3 separate regions of the Homo sapiens genome follow, and regions 1 and 2 are each linked to region 3. The links are contacts of gene promoters, found by promoter capture Hi-C in human tissues and cell types (Jung and others, 2019). All regions are on one chromosome and are shown on one strand. The core of a region is centred on a gene start or on the middle of the fragment in contact, and the rest is flanking DNA. Distances in the headings are between cores, read along the strand shown. Region 1 has its middle 46 kb from the start of ABRAXAS2. Region 2 overlaps EEF1AKMT2 (EEF1A lysine methyltransferase 2). Region 3 holds the start of LHPP (phospholysine phosphohistidine inorganic pyrophosphate phosphatase).

Region 1 (4,509 bases), core at 721-3,220, 390 kb before region 3:
GCACTCAGGCCGGGTCGGCAGCAGATGGCTAGAGCAAGGTGCCAGGGCTCTCTCTCGCCATCCTCTTTCTCCTGAGGGCTTGGATGTCACTCAGCCTCGCCCATAACTCTGTGCCCACTCTCCCTGGGTGGGTGGAGATTTGAATGCCAGCCTCCGGATGAAGAAGGGGATTAATTTGATCCTCCACCTGGGTACCTCTGAGCAGGCAGGCCGAGGACTGAGCAAGTGGAAGGTGTGGATGAGCTGCAGAAATGAGGTTGGCTTCTGCTTGATGCAGCCTTCCCTGTCACGTCCTGAGCAGGGGGAGGAGTGTGCTTGTCAGGACAAGGGTCACCGAGATTGCAGCTGCCCCAGGCGAGCTCCCCTTATGCTTCCCGCTCTGGCCTGTCTGCATCCAAGGTGCCAGGACACTGTGAAGAGCGTCCCAGGCTGGGCTGAGGACAGCCACGCTTCCTGAGCAGGATGCCAAGCCCCGTGGGGCCCAGAGCAAATGCTCCAGCCTGTCCTTTGTTTATTTCAATCTGGGACAAATGTTGCCGGAGAGGATCTCTACTATCCTTTCCTGTGCTGACATTCTCCAAGCCCGTCATGGTCTGGAGCAGACACAGCTGTAAGAGGAGGCAGGAGGCCTGGGCTCTGGGTCTTTCAGTGGCTTTGTGACCTTGGGCCCATCATCATGCTACTCTTGCCTCGGTTGTTCCCTCTTTGTGAAATGAGGGGTCAGCATCCTATGTCATCCAATTTGGTAACCATTAGCCATATGGCATGCAGCTTCTTAAATCTAGATTTAAATGAATTAAAATTGAATGAAATTTAAAACTTGGGCCAGGTGCAGTGACTCACACCTGTAATGCCAGAACTTTGAGAGGTGGCGGTGGATCGGAAGGGGGGGTGGATCGCTTGAGGCCAGGAGTTCAAGGGCAACCTGGGCAACAAATTGAGACCTCGTTTTTTTCTTTGTTTGTTTGTTTGTTTTCGAGACGGAGTCTTGCTCTGTCACCCAGGTTGGAGTGCAATGGCTCGATCTCGGCTCACCACAACCTCTGCCTCCCAGGTTCAAGCCATCCTCCTCCCGAGTAGTTGGGATTGCAGGCGCACGCCACCACACCCTGCTAATTTTTCTATTTTTAGTAGAGACGGGGTTTCACCATGTTGGTCAGGCTGGTCTCGAACTCCTGATCTCGTGATCCGCCCGCCTCGGCCTCCCAAAGTGCTGGGATAACAGGCGTGAGCCACTGCGCCTGGCCCCAAGACCCCCGTTTTTACAAAACAGGGTCTCTCCCCCAGGCTGAAGTGCAGTGGCACCATCTCAGCTCACTGCAACCTCCACCTCCTGGGTTCAAGCAACTCTCCCTGACTCAGCCTCCCGAGTAGCTGGGATTACAGGTGCCCACCAGCATGCCCGGCTAACTTTTGTAGTTTTAGTAGAGACAAGGTTTCACCATGTTGGCCAGGCTGGTCTCGAACTCCTGACTTCAGGTGATCCACCCACCTCGGCCTCCCAAAGTGCTGGGATTACAGGCGTGAGCCACCACACCCGGCCAAAATTTTTCTTTTTTAAATTAGCCAGTCATGGTGGCACATGTCTGTAGTTCCAGCTGCATAGGAGGCTAAGGTAGGAGGATCATTTGAACCCACGAGGTCGAGGCTGCAGGGAGCCATGATTGCACTACTATACTCCAACCTGAGTGACAGCAAGATGCTGCCTCAAAAAAACCTCAATTCTTTCGCCTTGCTAGCTGCGTTTCAAGTGCTCAGTAGCAACGTGTGACTGACTGCTGGCTCCTGTACTAAATAGTGCAGTTCCTTTTTTTTTTTTTTTTTTTTGAGACAGAATCTCCCTTTGTCACCCAGGCTGGAGTGCTGTGGTGTGATCTCTGCTTACTGCAACCTCCGCCTCCCAGATTCAAGTGATTCTCCTGCCTCAGCCTCCTGAGTAGGTGGGATTACAGGCACTTGCCACCACGCCCAGCTAATTTTTTATATTTTTGGTAGAGATGGGGTTTCACCATGTTGGCCAGGTTAGTCTCAAACTCCTGACCACAAGTGTTCTGCCCGCCTCGGCCTCCCAAAGTGCTGGGATTACAGGCATGAGCCACCACACCCGGCCATGTGGTTATATGACCTTTTAAAATTTTTCTGGGCTGGGCGTGGTGGCTCACGCCTGTAATCCTAGCACTTTGGGAGGCCGAGGCGGGTGGTTCACGAGGTCAGGTGTTCAAGACCATCCTGACCAACATGGTGAAACCCCGTCTCTACTAAAAACACAAAAATTAGCTGGGTGTGGTGGCAGGTGCCTGTAGTCCCAGCTACTTGGGAGGCTGAGGCAGGAGAATCACTTGAACCCGGGAGTCAGAGGTTGCAGTGAGCCGAGATCACGCCACTGCACTCCAGCCTGGGTGAAAGAGCGAAACTCCGTCGCAAAAAAATAAAATAAAATTTTTCTGAGCAAAGTTTGCCCAAAGCCCAATCTAATCAACAGATAAAATGAGGAAGAGGTGGCCTGATCCCCCCGTGTTTCCCACAATGATCCCCAGCCTCCTTCGTGGGGCCCCACCTGAAAAGAAGGTCTGAGCACAGCAGTCCTAAGCTTACAACACCAGTTGACCTCTGGTCTATAAAACAATGCCTCTTGGAAGAAGACTTAGTTCAAGACAACAGTAGCCACAACTTATCAGAGTTTATTGTCTTCCAGGCTTGTTTTAAGGCTTCTACACTCTAACTCACATAATCCTTCAATATCCTACGAAAAAAGTATTACCATCCATCCATATTTACTGTACCTATAGATGAGGCTCAGAAAGGTTGAGTAACTTGCCCAGGGCACACAGTTATGGAAATGGCAGGGCTGAAATTCAAGCCCCAGGTGAGTCTGACTCCAAAGCCCACTGTTGTAAGCTACTTCCCAGACCTGGGATGGAGGGCCAGGAATCTCCTGAGGTCACCACACCAGAATGCGGGTCTCCATCACCACTGGACAGCGAGTGAGTGTGTACAGAGAATCTTGGTGTTTCCCCGGGACAGAGGTGTGCTTGGGGAAAAGGGGCTCAGGAGAGAAGCCAGGGCTGAATGGACAGGGAATCAATCCTTCCAGCTGGACCAAAGCTGATGGCCTGGGGAAGTGGTGGGGAGCAGAGATAGTCCCTCCGCTCTGAAAGGAAAGAGGATGGGAAGTCTGCTCTTACAGAACACCCCGTGGCAGGAGGGATGGCCCCCATTACTTGGAGGACACACTGGCTTAAGGCATTTTGAGGAGGCCAGCTCTGGTTTCCTCGCCTCCTGCCACACCCTCCCAGTGGATTTCTCCCCTGTGGTTCTTCTTTAAGCCACAGTCGCTGTTCATCCAGGAGTGTTCAGTTCTTCTCGTCTGTAAAGCCTGTAAGTGATTACACTGAACATAGAGTTGTACTGGCCTGGATGGCCCAGGATGCTACAAGGCTTTGCCAATGTCTCCCGGGGGAAAAACAAGCTACTATAGCAGGGTGGACGGCGTCCTACAAAACCACCATTCCCTTAATACCATTTGATTTGGATCCTTGGATTCAGTTTACACAGAGGTCAGGTGACCAACCATCTAGAGGAGTTTCCAGGACCTGGAGATGTCAATGCTAAAACCAGGAGGATCCTGGCAAACCAAGACAGTTGGTCACCCTCACGAGTGGCTACTGTCCAAGAAACTCATCCTTACTTTCAAAATGCTGCTGGTCCCATGGACTTCATCACCGGAGGTCATTTTTAGAAATGTCAACTGGAGAATGAGGATGAGGATGGCGGCCATGCGTCCATGCTGCTGACGGCCAGGCAGGACCACAGAGTCGCCCAGGTCATCGATGCACACGAACATGTCCATGCACCCAGGAGCTTGGAACCCCTCAGTCAATACCATGCAGTTGTGAAACCGGAGGAAAACTGTGGCATGGGCTGAATGCGGTGGCTCACACCCGTAATCCCAGCACTTTGGGAGGCTGAGGTGGGCAGATCGCTTGAGCCCAGGAGCTAGAGACCAGCCTGGGCAACATAGTGAGACCTCATTTCTACAAAAAATTTAAAAAATTTTTTCTTTTGAGATGGAGTCTCGCTCTGTCACCCAGGCTGGAGTGCAGTGGTGAGATTTCGGCTCACAGCAAGCTCCGCCTCCCAGCTTCACTGCATTCTCCTGCCTCAGCCTCCCAAGTAGCTGGGACTACAGGCGCCCGCCACCATGCCTGGCTAAATTTTTGTATTTTTAGTAGAGATGGGGTTTCACCGTGTTAGCCAGGATGGTCTCGATCTCCTGACCTTGTGATCCACCTGCCTCAGCCTCCCAAAGTGCTGGGATTACAGGCGTGAGCCACCGCGCCCAGCCTAAATTTTTTTTTTTTTAATTAGCCAGGCTGGCCTGGGATAACAGGCATTAACCAACATACCTAGCCAAAATTTAAGATTTTTTTTTTTTGAGACAGAGTCTCGCTCTGTCACCCAGGCTGGAGTGCAGTGGCACGATCTCGGTTCACTGCAAGCTCTGCCTCC
Region 2 (4,498 bases), core at 227-2,726, 320 kb before region 3:
AGGCTTGAGCCACTGTGCCTGGCCTTACCTCTGTTTTTTATTCTTCTCTTTTTCCTTTCCTGCTGGTGTTGGTTTATTTGAACATTTGTTAGTATTTCATTTTAATTTATGTGTATCTTCTTGAATATATCTCTTTGCGTATGGCTGTTTTAGTGGTTGCTTTAAGCAGTTGACTGTGTCTTTTGGTGTGGCTTTTCTAGTGGTTCCTGTGTAGATTACAATATATATAGTTGTCAAAATCTCCTTGGAATCAGTATTTTACCACTATAAGTGGAATGTGAAAACCTTATCATGTTGGGTTCTTGATCTTTCACCTTTATGTTGTAGTTGTCTTTACTATTACCTTTATGTTGAAAATTCCATTAGATAATATTATGATTTTTTTCAAACATTTTAAGGAATGCACTAGGAGAAGAATATTTAATTATATTCACCTAGATATTTATTTCACCTTTGTATTCTGGATCTCCTGAGCTTTTTTTTTTTCTTTCTGTCTAAGAAATTCTTCTTGGAAATTATTTTAGAGAGGGTTTTCTTGCAACAAATTTTTTTTGTTTTCCTTTACCTGAGAATAGCTTTATTTCACCTTCATTCCTAAGGAGTGTTTTTTTTTTTTTTTTGGCTGAATATAGAATCTTTTTTTTTTTTGAGACACAGTCTCACTCTGTCACCCAGGCTGGAGTGCAGTGGCACAATCTCACAATCTCGGCTCACTGCAACCTTCGCCTCCTGGGTTCAAGCGATTGATTCTTCTGCCTCAGCCTCCCGAGTAGCTGGGATTATAGGTGTCCACCACCACACCCGGCTACTTTTTGTGTTTTTAGTAGAGATGGGGTTTCACCATGTTGGCCGGGCTGGTCTCGAATTTCTGACCTCGGATGATCTGCCTGCCTCAGCCTTCAAAAGTGCTGGGATAACAGGCGTGAGCCACCGCAGCCGGCCTGAATATAGAATTCTGAGCTAGCCGTTTCTTTCAGTACTTTAAAAATGTTATGGGCTGGGCACGGTGGCTCACGCCTGTAATCCCAGCATTTTGGGAGGCCGAGGCGGGCAGATCACGAGGTCGGGAGATCGAGACCATCCTGGCCAACATGGTGGACCCCCATCTCTACTAAAATACAAAAAATTAGCCGGGCGTGGTGGCATGCCCTTGTAGTCCCAGCTACTCAGGAGACTGAGGCAGGGGAATAGCTTGAACCCGGGAGGCGGGGGTTGCAGTGAGCCAAGATCGCGCCACTGCATTCCAGCTTGGCAGCAGAGCAAGACTCCGTCTCAAAAAAAAAAAGTTACGTCACTTGTTTTTGACTTCCATGTTTTCTCATGAGGAATCTGCAGTCATTTGAATTGTTGTTTTCCTATGAATGCATCATTTTTCTAGATGCTTTTAAGATTTTTTTTCTTTGTCTTTTGTTTTTTGCAGTTTGCTTATGATGTGTGCTGTGGCTTGGATTTCTTTGGCTTATCCTATTTGGTGTTCACTGAACTTTTTACATCTGTAAGCTTATGTCTTTTGCCAGATTTGCGATATTTCTAGCTTTTGTTTTTTCTATTTTTTTTTTCTGTATTACTGTCTTTCTCCTTTCATTTTGGGAGTCTATACACATGAAATGTCAATTTTTCTGTTGCTCCACAGGTCCCCGTGAACTCCACAGGTTCAATTTTTTAAAAGTCATTTTTGTCTTTGTCGGCCAAATGTTATATTTCAATTGATCTGTCTTCAGATTCACTGACTTTTTCTCTGTCACCTTCATTTTGCTGTTAAGTCCACACATTGCAATTGGCTGACATGTCTTAATTTTTTACTGCATGATTTCTTTATTTACCATTACGATTTATTTTTTGTAGGAGGTAGTTCATTTGTCTGAATGGTTTTTCACAATGTGAATTTTCTAATTACATCTCTATAGTATTTAACATGTTTTCTGTCCCTCGTGTTGTCTGTACGTTGGAAATTAGACCTAAATTAAGGGTCAGCAAACCACAGTCTACGGGTCAAATCTGGACCTCCTTTGTTTTTATAAATATTTGTTGGAATACAGCCACATTTATTCATTTGCATATTGTCTATGGCAGCTTAAGTGTTGCATTGGTAGAGTTGACTGGTTGTAACAGAGACTGTATGGCTGGCAAAGCCTAAAATATTTATTCTGTTTCTTTTTGTTTTTTGAGACAGAGTCTTGCTCTGTCGCCCAGGCTGGAGTGCTGGAGTGCAGTGGCGTGTGATCTTGGCTCACTGTAAGCTCTGCCTCCTGGGTTCACACCATTCTTTTGCCTCAGCCTCCCGAGTAGCTGGGACTACATGTGCCCGCCACCACGCCTGGCTAATTTTTTGTATTTTTTAGTAGAGACGGGGTTTCACTCTGTTAGCCAGGATGGTCTCGATCTCCTGACCTCAGGATCCACCCACCTTGGCCTCCAAGAGTGCTGGGATTACAGGCGTGAGCCACCACGCCTGACTATTCTGTTTCTTTTTTTTTTTTTTTTTTTTTTTGAGATGGAGTCTCGCTCTGTCGCCCAGGCTGGAGTGCAGTGGTGCAGTCTTGGCTCACTGCAAGCTCCACCTCCCAGGTTCACACCATTCTCCTGCCTCAGCCTCCTGAGTAGCTGGGACTACTGGCACCCGCCACCACGTCCGGCTAATTTTTTGTATTTTTTTAGTAGAGACGGGGTTTCACTGTGTTAGCCAGGATGGTCTCGATCTCCTGACCTCGTGATCCACCCGCCTCGGCCTCCCAAAGTGCTGGGATTACAGGCGTGAGCCACTGCGCCCAGCCACTATTCTGTTTCTTTATAGAAAATGGTTGCTGGCTGGGCATGGTGGCTCACACCTATAATCCCAGCACTTTGGGAGGCCAAGGTGGAAGGTTTGTTTGAGCTCAAGAGTTTGAGACCAGCCTGGGCAACATGGTGAAACCCCGTGTCTACTAAAGACACAGAAAAATAGCCAGGTGTCGTGGTGTGTCCTTGTAATTCCAGTTACTCAGGAGGCTGAGGTGGGAGAATCGCTTGAGCCTGGGGAGGTTGAGGCTGCAGTGAGCTGTGATCACGCTGTTGCATTCCAGTCTGGGTGACAGAAGGAAACCCTGTTTCCATAAAAAAAAGAAAAAGATTGCTGACCCTGGATTGAGAGATTTTTATTAGATTTTTTTTTTTGGCAAGTAAACTTATTAGGTGTTGGTGTATATTTGCATATGTGGCGTAGAATATTTGGTGTAGAACATTCATCTTTTTGTTATATTAACAGCCATTGAAGACCATTTCTTATACGTACTACTTTTTCATTGATCAGCTACATTTTTGATGGTTACTTTTCCTACATTTTTGATGGATGTTTTTGCTATATCATTTTAGGTTACTATTTTTCTTTTACTATCTTCTGGCTTCCATTCTTTATCACTTATTGTTAGCTATAAGCCTTATCATCATCCTTTTAAAGGTAATCTGTCGCCTTGTATCCCACATCCCTACTCCCTGGATGTTTTTGAGATTTTTCTGTTTTTCTTTTTTTTTTTTTTTGGTACGGAGTCTCACGCCGTCACCCAGGCTGGAGTGCCATGTGCCATCTCTGCTCACTGCAACCTCTGCTTCCGGGGTTCAAGTGATTCTCTTGCCTCAGTCTCCCGAGTAGCTGGGATTACAGGCATGTGCCACCACACCTGGCTAATTTTTGTATTTTTAGTAGAGACGGGGTTTCACCATATTGGCCAGGCTGGTCTCGAACTCCTGACCTTAGGTGATCCGCCTGCCTTGGCCTCCCAAAGTGCTGGTATTACAGGCATAAGCCACCATGCTGAGCTGATTTTTCTGTTTTTGTTTTTCATCAGATACACTATGATGTGTCTAGGTGGAGTTTGCTTTCATCTGCCTTGAATTTATACTGTTTCTTGAATCTGAGGCTTGGGTCCTTTGTCACTATTGGAGTATTCTTAGCCATATGCCATTTTTTCTTCTGCCCTATTCTCATTTCCTTTCCTCTCAGATTCCACATATGGATTGGGTATACATATATGTTTGTGTGTATGTATGTGTGTGTGTGTGTGTATGTATAGACTGTGTGTTAAAATTGTCTATACATACACACTATAACCTCCAACTCCGGAGCTCACTATAACCTCCAACTCCTGGGTTCAAGCGATTCTCCTGCCTCAGCCTCCCAAGTAGCTGGGATTACAGGCACCCGCCACCACGCCTGGCTAATTTTGTGTGTTTAGTAGAGATGGGGTTTCACCATGTTGGCCACGCTGGTCTCGAACCCCTGTGGATATAGAGGGTTGTGTGTGTGTGTATGTATATATAGTCATACACTACATAACAATGTTTCAGTTGAAATGTACCACATATACAATGGTGGTCCTATAAGATTATAATACTGTATTTTTACCCTTTCTATGTACAGATATCTTTAGGGCTGGGCACAGTGGCTCATGCCTGTAATCCCAGCACTTTGGGAGGCCAAGGCAGGTGGATAACTTGAGCTCAGGAGTTCAAGACCAGCTTG
Region 3 (4,287 bases), core at 1,217-3,716:
AGGCTACCAAGCCAGGGTGCCTCAGCTAGTGACTCCGGGAGGCCAAGTCCTGGCAGTTAGCCCTTCCCGGCTGCCTATCAACACATGGCAGTGCTGACCTGGGATGCCAACAGGAGGCCTTACAAAGCCCAGGTCCAGTGGTGCCAACCATGCTACTGAAAGTGTCCTTCTGGCTGGCCACAGTGGCTCACACCTCTAATCCCAGAACTCTGGGAGCTGAGGCAGGCAGATCACTTCAGCCCAGGAGTTCAAGACCGGCCTGGGCAACATGGCAAAACCCCATCTCTACAAAAAACACAAAAAAATTAGCTGGGCATGGTGGCACGTGCCTGTAGTTCCAGCTACTTGGGAGGCTGAGGTGGGAGGATCTCTTGAGCCCTTGAGGTAGAGGTTGCAGTGAGATTGAACCACTGCACTCCAGCCTGGGTGGCAAAGTAAGACCTTGTCTCAAAAAAAAAAAAAAAAAAAGAAAAAAAAATTAGGCCAGGTGTGGTGGCTCATGCCTGTAATCCTAGCACTTTGGGAGACCAAGGCAGGAGGACTGCCTGAGCCAAGGAGTTCAAGACCACCCTGGCAACATAATGAGACCTTGTCTCAAAAAAAAAAATTATACAAAGAAAAGTGTCAGCCAGGTGCGGTGGCTCACGCCTGTAATCCCAGCACTTTAGAAGGCCCAGGCAGGTGGATCAGTTGAGGTCAGGAGTTCGAGACCAGCCTAGCCAGTATGGTGAAACCCCATGTCTACCAAAAATACAAAAATTAGCTGGGCGTGGTGGCGGGTGCCTGTAATCCCAGATACTTGGGAGGCTGAGGCAGGAGAATCACTTGAACCTGGGAGGCAGAGGTTGCAGTGAGCCCAGATGGCGCCACTGCACTCCGGCCTGGGCAACAAGAGCAAAACTGTCTCAAAAAAAAAAAAGTGTCCTCATGGTCAAGTCTTGGCTGGCACGATGTTCTCTTCCTCCTCCTCTCACCTAAACCAATGCAGTCCAACAGAATTATAATGAGAGCCACAAAGGTAATTTAAAGTTTTCTAATAAGCACATTAACAAAAGTTAAAAAAAAAAGGTATACTTAATTTCAAATATTTTAACCTAAAACAGTATATTAAAAATATTATCAACTGGGCATGTGGCTCACGCCTATAATCCCAGCACTTTGGGAGGCCGAGGCAGGTGGATCACCTGAGGTCAGGAGTTAGAGACCAGCCTGCCCAACATGGTGAAACCCCGTCTCTACTAAAAATACAAAAAATTAGCCGGGTGTGGTGGCACATGCCTGTAATTCCAGCTATTCAGGAGGCTGAGGCAGGAGAATCGCTTGAACCTGGGAGGCGGCGGTTGCAGTCAGCAGAGATTGCACCACTGCATTCCAGCCTGGGCAACAAGAGCAAAACTCCGTCTCAAACAAAACAAATAAAAAAAGTAACTGGGCATGATGGCGGGTGCCTGTAATCCCAGCTACTCGGGAGCCTGAAGGGGGAGAATCACTTGCACCCGGGAGGCGGAGGTTGCAGTGAGCCGAGATCGTGCCATTGCACTCCAGCCTGGGCGACAGAGCAAGACTCCATCTGAAAAGAACAAAACAAAACAAACAAAAAGTATATCATTTCAACAGGCAAACAACATAACCCATTTTCATGTTTTTATTTTACATTTTACTCACGAAGTCTGGTGTTTTTGGGGGTTTTGTTTATGAGACCGTCTCGCTCTGCAGTCCAGGCTAGAGTACAGTGGGGTGATCACAGCTCACTGTAGCCTTGACCTCCTGGGCTCAAGCGATCCTCCTGCCTCAGCCTCCCAAGTGGCTGGGCCTACAGGCGTGCACCACCACACCCGGCTAATTTTTAAATTTTTGGCAGAGACGGGGTCTCCCTATGTTGCCCAGGGTGGTCTCCAACCCCCTAGCCTCAAGCGATCCTCCCTCCTCTGCCTCTGCAAGTGCTAGAATCACAGATGCGAGCCACCGCGCCCGGCTAAGTCTTGTTAATCGGTATGCATTTTACGCTTACAGCACATCTCAATTCAGACTGGCCGCAGGTCAAGCGCTCAGCAGCGCACGTACCAGGTGGCCGCCCTGTCTGACCGCGCAGCCCTAACCAGCAGAGTCCTGGTGCTCGCCGGGGGCAACAGTGGGGTCGTCCGTGGTCAGCACTGTGCGCGCACCGGGGTGGGAAGGGGGAGACCGAGGCGGGGCCTGCGCCGCGGCCCCGCCCCCTGCCGCCCCGCCCCCTGCCGGCAGCCAGGGAGCGGGCTGAGCTTAGAGCTCGGCGGCCCCAGCGGCGTCCCGGGGCCCACTCACCTGGCCACCGCCTCCACCGAGCCGGCGATGGCCGTGCCGCCGCCCGCGCCGCTGTCGTACAGCACGCCCGAGATGTCAAGCAGCACCCCGCGCACGCCAGCCAGCCGCTTGCCCCACGGTGCCATGGCGCCCGGCCCTGCTCCTCAGCTCCGCGTCCCAACCGACGCCGGCGCCGGCGCCGCGGCCGCGCAGGGGCGCCTGGGAACTGTAGTCCCGCGGGCGGGGCAGGGCAAGAAGACCGGGTGCAAACCCGGAACTGGGGCGCGGCCTGGGCACCCCGGCGTCACTCGCCCCTGAAACGGTGTCCTTTTCGGAAGCTTTCTTCCCAGGAGATCAGCGGACAAAGAGCAGGAAAAGCAGAAAACAAGTCCCTAAGAAAGGTCAAAGGCAAATTGAGACAAGAAGGCACCTGTAGCCAGGGGCGGTGGTTCACGCCTGCAATCCCAGCACTTTGGGAGGCAGAAGCGGGCGGACAGCTTGTGCCCAGGAGTTCTAGACCAACCTAGTCAACATAGTGAGACCCTGTCTCTATTAAAGAAAGAAAGAAAAAGTACAATACAAAATTGAGGCCGGGCGTAGTGGCTTATGCCTGTAATCCCAGCACTTTGGGAGGCTGAGGCGGGTGGATCGCTTGAGATCAGGAGTTCGAGACCAGCCTGGTCAACATGGTGAAACCCCTGTCTCTACTAAAAATACAAAAATCACCTAGGTGTGGTGGCGCATGCCTGTAGTCCCAGCTACTCGGTAGGCTGAGGCGGAAGAACCGCTTGAACCTGGGAGGCGGAGGTTGCAGTGAGCCGAGATTGCACCACTGCACTCCAGCCGGGGCGACAGAGCAAGACTTTGTCTTAAAAAAAAAAAAAATTATATGCAGATAACAGCCCTGCATAGATGAGGATGCATAGGACCTGGGCTGAGAAGAAAACGGGACTATCACAATGCGTTAAACCCAGGAGGTTTTTGGATAAGCTATAAAATACCACTCGATGCTACATTATTTTTGCAATAAATACACATTGATATTAAAAGGGAGGAGTTTCCTCAATGGCCCCTCGGAACCTTTCAAGTTATTAAATAGAAACGAGAACACTTTACTTCTGGTCCAACATAGCTTTGAGCTTTCAAAGAAGAGAGGATCATATTATTTCACCATTTCTTTTCAGGCTCTTGATTCACAGAAAGGATGAGGAATTCGTTGAAATGTTATGGGGTTCAATGAATTGTGTATATTTTGTTGACATGCTTACTAGGGGAGCTGTTTACAAGTGAAATAAAATACAGTTCCTACCCTTTGGGATTTCCACTAATGGGGTTGGGGAGTAGTATACCTTATATAAGGGTTCTTAGTCGCAGACAATAGACACCACTCCAGCTAGAGGGGTTTTGTTTACATGAGGTGAAGGAGCTTACAGATGACGGGTCTAAGTCCTACACAGCCAGGAGCCATGCAGCCACGAGAAACACTTAATTTTACTACTCCATTGGGACCACTGCCCCATCACTTAGTGCAGCCCCCAGCATAGCTGCCCCCAAAAGAACAAAACATATCCACCACTGTGCCCTCCACCTGTGGCCACCCACTCACTTTCACTGTGTCTGGCTTGGTGGAACCTAGCCCACGCTGCAAAGGAGTCTGGGAAATGCAGTTTTTAGTGTTCCAGGGGCTGAGTGAGTCAGTTTGGAGAATCTGCTAGGAACATCATGAACCGTACACGTATTGAGACCCTACTCTGTGCAGTGGGCACAAAAAAGTTCTAGGGTGTGATCCTTGCCTTCCAGGATCAAGACTGGGCAGAGAACAATGGAAGACCTTCACGACTGCTGACCAAATGTGTGCCAAGTGGCAATGAGTGACACAGACACAGTCAAGAGGATGACCTCTGCAGGCCTAGGAGGGCAGCTGTGGCTTCTGGGCAGGGGCAGCCTGAAATGGACCTTGGAGAATGGCTGGGCTTTAGCTTCATGCCAAGGAGGAGGAAAAGGGGT

What was found. The method cuts DNA at HindIII sites, captures the fragments that hold promoters and counts their contacts. A contact is called where the count stands out against the background at its distance.
Region 1: a fragment that was not itself captured here is called in contact with the fragment with the promoter of LHPP in region 3 in 1 of the 25 tissues and cell types used here (IMR-90 fibroblasts).
Region 2: a contact is called between a fragment that was not itself captured here and the fragment with the promoter of LHPP in region 3, in 1 of the 25 tissues and cell types used here (spleen).

The regions. Positions count from the first base shown.
Region 1 is chr10:124,845,169-124,849,677 of GRCh38, reverse strand. No RefSeq gene overlaps it. Among named protein-coding and RNA genes, the nearest start is that of ABRAXAS2, 46 kb to the right of the region's middle. The HindIII fragment of the contact is 5,094 bases long and covers 1-4,509 here.
Region 2 is chr10:124,777,741-124,782,238 of GRCh38, reverse strand. All of the region lies in intron 3 of EEF1AKMT2 (EEF1A lysine methyltransferase 2), which reads left to right. Among named protein-coding and RNA genes, the nearest start is that of EEF1AKMT2, 12 kb to the left of the region's middle. The HindIII fragment of the contact is 3,768 bases long and covers 1-3,360 here.
Region 3 is chr10:124,460,002-124,464,288 of GRCh38, reverse strand. LHPP (phospholysine phosphohistidine inorganic pyrophosphate phosphatase) reads right to left here and starts at 2,466. Exons shown (of 7, transcript NM_022126.4): 1 at 2,302-2,466. The coding sequence starts at 2,426. RefSeq lists enhancers at 1-109, 110-610 and a silencer at 2,127-2,586. The HindIII fragment of the contact is 8,477 bases long and covers 1-3,965 here.